2 separate regions of the Homo sapiens genome follow, and region 1 is linked to region 2. Evidence: promoter capture Hi-C in 16 types of primary human blood cells and fetal thymus (Javierre and others, 2016). All regions are on one chromosome and are shown on one strand. Each heading gives the region's core, a stretch centred on a gene start or on the middle of the fragment in contact. The rest is flanking DNA. Distances are from core to core; before and after follow the strand shown. Region 1 overlaps GON4L (gon-4 like). Region 2 holds the start of RIT1 (Ras like without CAAX 1).

What was found. The method cuts DNA at HindIII sites, captures the fragments that hold promoters and counts their contacts. A CHiCAGO score of 5 or more calls a contact.
Region 1: a fragment that was not itself captured here is called in contact with the fragment with the promoter of RIT1 in region 2 in 1 of 17 cell types (endothelial precursors); the score reaches 5.3 in endothelial precursors.

Annotation. Positions count from the first base shown.
Region 1 is chr1:155,800,929-155,803,767 of GRCh38, forward strand. All of the region lies in intron 11 of GON4L (gon-4 like), which reads right to left. Among named protein-coding and RNA genes, the nearest start is that of GON4L, 55 kb to the right of the region's middle. The HindIII fragment of the contact is 1,686 bases long and covers 409-2,094 here.
Region 2 is chr1:155,909,971-155,912,829 of GRCh38, forward strand. It overlaps RIT1 (Ras like without CAAX 1), which reads right to left and starts at 1,379. Exons shown (of 6, transcript NM_006912.6): 1 at 1,273-1,379; 2 at 686-834; 3 at 480-536. The coding sequence starts at 791. The HindIII fragment of the contact is 5,298 bases long and covers 1-2,859 here.

The DNA.
Region 1 (2,839 bases), core at 2-2,501, 110 kb before region 2:
GGTTCTACTCCTAGGAGTATAACAAATTGATTCTGTAACTTTGAGCAAGACAATGAATTTCTCTGAGATTTCACTGCCTACAAAGTGGTTAGAACTATCTGTCCTTGGGCAACCCACTCGGGTCCCCTACCACGTTGTGGAAACTTTGTTCTTTAACTCTTCACAATAAATCTTGCTGCTGCTCAAAAAAAAAAAAAAAAAAAAAAAGAACTCTCTGTCCTGTCTATTCCTTTTTGTGGAGATTTCTGAACCTGGTAGAAACAGGAAGTGTCAATAAACTTTAAAAGATATGTATCTCCCAAAAATCATATAAAAATTTCATGTATTTGGATATGTACATTTTTTTCTGGGGGAAGGCTGCATAGTTTTCATCAGATTGTCAAAGGGGTGAGTAATGGAAAACTCAGAAGCTTAGACTCCTATCAGAATGACTAATGGGATAATATATCAGTTGCTAATTATGAAGGAACTGATTCTATACTTTGCATGTTAATGACTCAGCTTCAAACTCCATCTTTTTCTCCTTACACAATTTTTTTCATTTTGTGGCTTGTTAGCCCCTCTACTACAGAGGGTGGGTAAAAAAAAGAAATATGATAAGATTTAAAACAATTTGCTTCTTGTTATTTTCTCTCTCTTTTTTAAAATTTTATTTTATTTTAAAAATAGAAATGCCAGGTGCGGTGGCTCATGCCTGTAATCCCAGCATTTTGGGAGGCCAAGGAGGGTGGATCACCTGAGGTCAGGAGTTTGAGACCAGTCTGACCAATATGGTGAAACCCTGTCTCTACTAAAAATACAAAGATTAGCCAGGCAAGGTGGCAGGCGCATGTAATCCCAACTACTGGGGAGGCTGAGACAGGAGAATCGCTTGAACCCAGTAGGCAGAGGTTGCAGTGAGCCGAGATCACACCACTGCACTCCAGTCTGGGCGACAGAGCGAGACTCTGTCGAAGAAAAAAAAAATAGAAATGAGGTCTCACTGTGTTTCCCAGGCTGGTCTTGACTTCCTGGCCTCAAGCAATCCTCATGCCTTGGCTTCCCATAGTACTGGGATTACAGGCATGAGCCACCACGCCTGGACTATCTTTTCTAAATGTTTGAGAAAAGTCTTAAATTTAAATTTAGGACTAAAATTTAATTATTTTTATCCCCACATTAATGTGGAAAACTAAAAAGTAACTACACATTGAAAACTCTCACAGATGCATACCAAAGTATTATCAGTAGTCCCTCTGGGGAACCAAACTTGAACCTTGGTGTCAAAGGCTTTGGAAATGACTGGTAGGAAAATGAAGTGCCAATAAATAAACTCTAAGAGATACATAAACCCCAAAAAAATCATATGAAAAATTTCATGTATGTAGATATGTACATTTTCCTTGGGGGGGGGGAAGGCTTTAATTGTTTTATTTCTGTAATATTTGATTTCTTTATACCAAGCATATATTACTCTTACAGTTTTACAGTGAAAAAAGAGAAAACTCTGGAAAGAATATATCCTACAGAATCCAGCATATAGAGTATATCATGTCACTTCTACTCAGATGCCTTCTCTCTTCCCTGTCACTGTTTTCAAAAATCTTTCCAAGGTCCATTTCAATTACCAGCTCTTTCATGTAGCTGTCTCTGATCATCCTAAACAAAAGTTACCCTGTCCTCTTCTAAAATCTTACAACAGCATTTATGCCACTTTGATGGCATATCTGAGTTTATTCAACAACTTCATTCATTTACAATATACTGGCTGAGCGCGATGGCTCACTCCTGTAATCTCAGCACTTTGGAAAGCAGAGGCAGGAGGATCGCTTGAGCGCAGGAGTTCGAGACCAGCCTGGGCAACATGGCAAAACCCCAACTCTACAAAAAATACAAAAATTGGCCGGGCATGATGGCACAAACCTGTATTCCCAGCTATTTAGAAGGCTGAGGTGGGAGAATTGCTTGCGCCAAGGAGGTCAAGGCTGCAGTGAGCTAAGATCTCACCACTGCACTCCAGCCTGGGTGACAGAGTGAGACCCTGTCTCACACACACACAAAAAAGTACAATGTATTGTGAACCTAACAATGGGCCAGGCACCCTGTCATTCATAAAGCTTTTATTCCATGACCAAATGATTATGCTCCTTTATCCCTCACAGATTCTAGCACAATGCCTTGTATAAAGAAAGTACTCAAACATTTGCCAAATGATATACTATATAACTATTAATAGTATCATAAGGTACATTCAAGGACCTGTTATTTTCTTTCATTCACTTATCCTGACTTACTCCTAGCATTACCTACCCAGCCATTTACTCAGTCTATTTCTTTTTCTTTTTTTTTTTTTTTTGAGATGGAGTCTCGCTCTGTTGCCAGGCTGGAGCGCAGTGGCGCAATCTCGGCTCGCTACAACCTTCGCCTGCCAGGTTCAAGTGATTCTCCTGCCTCAGCCTCCTGAGTAGCTGGGACTACAGGCGTGCACCACCACGCCCAGCAAATTTTTTTATTTTTAGTAGAGACAGGGTTTCACCCTGTTGGCCAGGATGGTCTCAATCTCTTGACCTTGTGATCCGCCCGCCTCGGCCTCCCAAAGAGCTGGGATAATAGGTGTGAGCCACCACGCCCAGCCTACTTAGTCTGTTTCCATCCAAACTTTTATCTGATCAATATTTCTTCCCCATTTCTGATAATACCATTACTTCTTTAGGGTCACCACATACTTCAACCACACTGTTCTATGAGGTGCTATCAATCACCAGACTCCATGCTGAACAGTCTCCCTATCAATCCCATGTAGTACCAAGAGACTGGGCATGAGATCAAACCAAGTCGATCTGACTTGTTCCCCTGGATT
Region 2 (2,859 bases), core at 129-2,628:
TAATGAACTTAAGGTATAAGGAAGTAAACCAAGAGCTCCAAGTGCAAGATGTCCAGGCTTGGCATGTCTGGGTTGTAAGAGTTCAGCAGCCTGGCTCTACTTGTTTCTCTGCTTCCTTTTGTGGAAGTTCAAACCAGCTGACTCACAGTTACAGAGCGAGTCTCAAGTCATACCCTTAGAGAAGTGACAGCAAGAAAAGGCTTCGTTAAGTGGCCTGTATACAACCATAAAAAAATACAACAAAGAGAGTTGTCCCATTAATGTTCAGTAAGAGACAAAGACTAAAGATGGCTTATGACATAAAGTCTGAAAAAAAAAGAAATATTCAGTTGCTTACCAACTGCTGATACCCTTGTTTCTAAATAAATCTGAATTAGACTCCAAAAAAGCCTCAAAATATAAATAGTTAGAAACTACTGATATTCATTAAGATATTTTTATGGGGTATATTTGGAAACATAAGTGATGATCTGGCTTACCAATGGTGGGATCATGATCTTCTGGGAATCGGTGGCTGATGAACTGCATGGTCATGGCTTCAAAAGAAGAAATAAAAGTCAAATCCTCACAAAGGTGACCCACAGAGAGAATTTTAAGTATTAACATTGCAAGATAGCAAGTATCCCATCTGGTCATTTAAGTACTTTTCATCCATGCTTCCTGTCAAATGGAAAATGTTACCTACCACTCTTCCCTACACCACCAGCACCCAGCATCACTAGTTTGTACTCCCGTGAGAGCCCAGCGGGGCTGCTACAGCAGCTACCAACTGGGCGAGTTCCAGAATCCATTGTCCTCTTGGGGCCTTCCTCGGTTGCCCCGAGGAAAAGCCACCTAGAAAAGGAGGAGGAAATGCTTAATCCAGGATGGAGACACCACGGCGACAGCCCTCAAGCCAGTGCCTTACCTTTCCATACATATTCTGGCCTGTCCCTCTTACTCTGGCCTGTCCCTCTTGCTCACCACTGCACCCTTTCGGGTGGCCCTAAGAAACCCCCCCATCTTCACCCTCCCTCCTAGACAGTTCAGTCACATGACACATCACAGGTTTTACTTTTTCCAAAGAGAAAAATAAAAAGATACAAATAAATTTACGTCTCGGCACAGTAGGGACAAGGAGAAAGTTTTGGGAAGAAAGGGATGCGGCCCCTTAGGCCGCAGGGGTTCTCTCACGTCTGCGGTACCCAGAGGTTCCGCCCCCTCCCCATTCTCCTCCGAACCCCCTCCCCACCCCCAGCTGCTGCTCCGCCGCCAGACTCCCCACCCCTCTACCTCACAAGCCGACGCCCTGCTGCTCCTACTGGTCAGTGGGGACTGGAACACCACAGCCGGTCGGGTCACGCACTTCGTCTTCCTTCACTCGCGGAGGCTCCGGCACTGACCTGTGACCCCTCCCGCAACCGAGTAAGATGGCGCCACCGGCGCCCGAGTCGCGGAAGGAGGGGCGGGGCCACTCAGTGACGCCCACAGCCTGCCCCGCCCTCTTCCCGCCCCTCCCAGGTCCCTAAAACCCAGTTCCGGGACCCACCGCTGAAGGTCCTCTGGTCACCTACCCAACCTAGGGTGTATGCACTCACAGACAAGGGTATTTAATCACGAGTAGAAAGTAAATTATTTACACAAAAGGGAAGGGAGTACGTGATAAGAGACATGCAGGGACACTTAAATTAACAACTTACCGAGGGTTGTTTGCTGCTTGTGGGAAAAAAAAAAACCCAAAACTAATTTGACCCAATGTAATGAGAGGAAGGGAGGACAGGGGCACCCCCCAAATCCTCCTAAAACACAGGATTTCAGTCAAGTCTACCGGGGATGACTACTCATAGGAGAAAAATGACTTTCCTAAAGGAGCGGCCACAATGACTTTTGCTATTGAAACCTAAATTCATTCTCAGAAACCAGATGTTCACAACACTCCCTAATCAGAGTTCTGTATGTATTTTAAACACGTATAAGACACACAAAAACTTGTTTTAAATAAATGTACCACACTCTGGCAGGAAAGAGAGCTCTGAGTTAACAGAGGCCTTGAGTTAAATACAGAACTGAAGCGCAGCCACTATAACCATATTCCCCTCTATTTACGTAGCACAGGTGCTAGAAGAAACTGACACGAAAATTGTTCTCATGCAGCTCTGCCTACCACTGTTCTTTTTAAATGTCTTTCTGGGCCGGGCGGGCGCGGTGGCTCACACCTGTAATCCCAGCACTCTGGGAGGCCGAGGCAGGTGAGTCATGAGGTCAAGAAATAAGAGACCATCCTGGCCAACATGTAAAACCGTCTCTACTAAAAATACAAAAGAATTAGCTGGGTGTGGTGGCATGCGCCTATAAGTCCCAGCTACTCGGGAGGCTGAGGCAGGAGAATCACTTGAACCTGGGAGGTGGAGGTTGCAGTTAGCTGGCTGAGAGGGTGCCACTGCACTCCAGCCTGGCAACAGAGCAAAACTCCGTCTCAAAATTTAAGTCTTTCTGGCCAGGAGTGCTGGCTCACGCCTGTAATCCCAGGACTTTGGGAGGCTGAAGTGGGCTGATCACTTGAGGATCAGGAGTTCAAGACCAGCCTGGCCAAAATGGTGACTCCCTGTCTCTACTAAAAATATAAAAATTAGTTGGGCATGGTGGTAGGTGCCTATAATCCCAGCTACTCAGGAGGCTGAGGCTGGAGAACCACTTGAACCCAGGAGGTTGCGGTGAGCCAGGATTGCACCATTCCACTCCAGCCTGGGTGACAGAGCGAGACTCCATCTCAAAAAAAAATAAAATGTCTTTCCAAGAATAACATATTTCCTTTAAAACCCGCTTCATTCATGAAGTCCTTTTAATACGCTGTTAAATAAAGGAGGGCTAAAATATGAA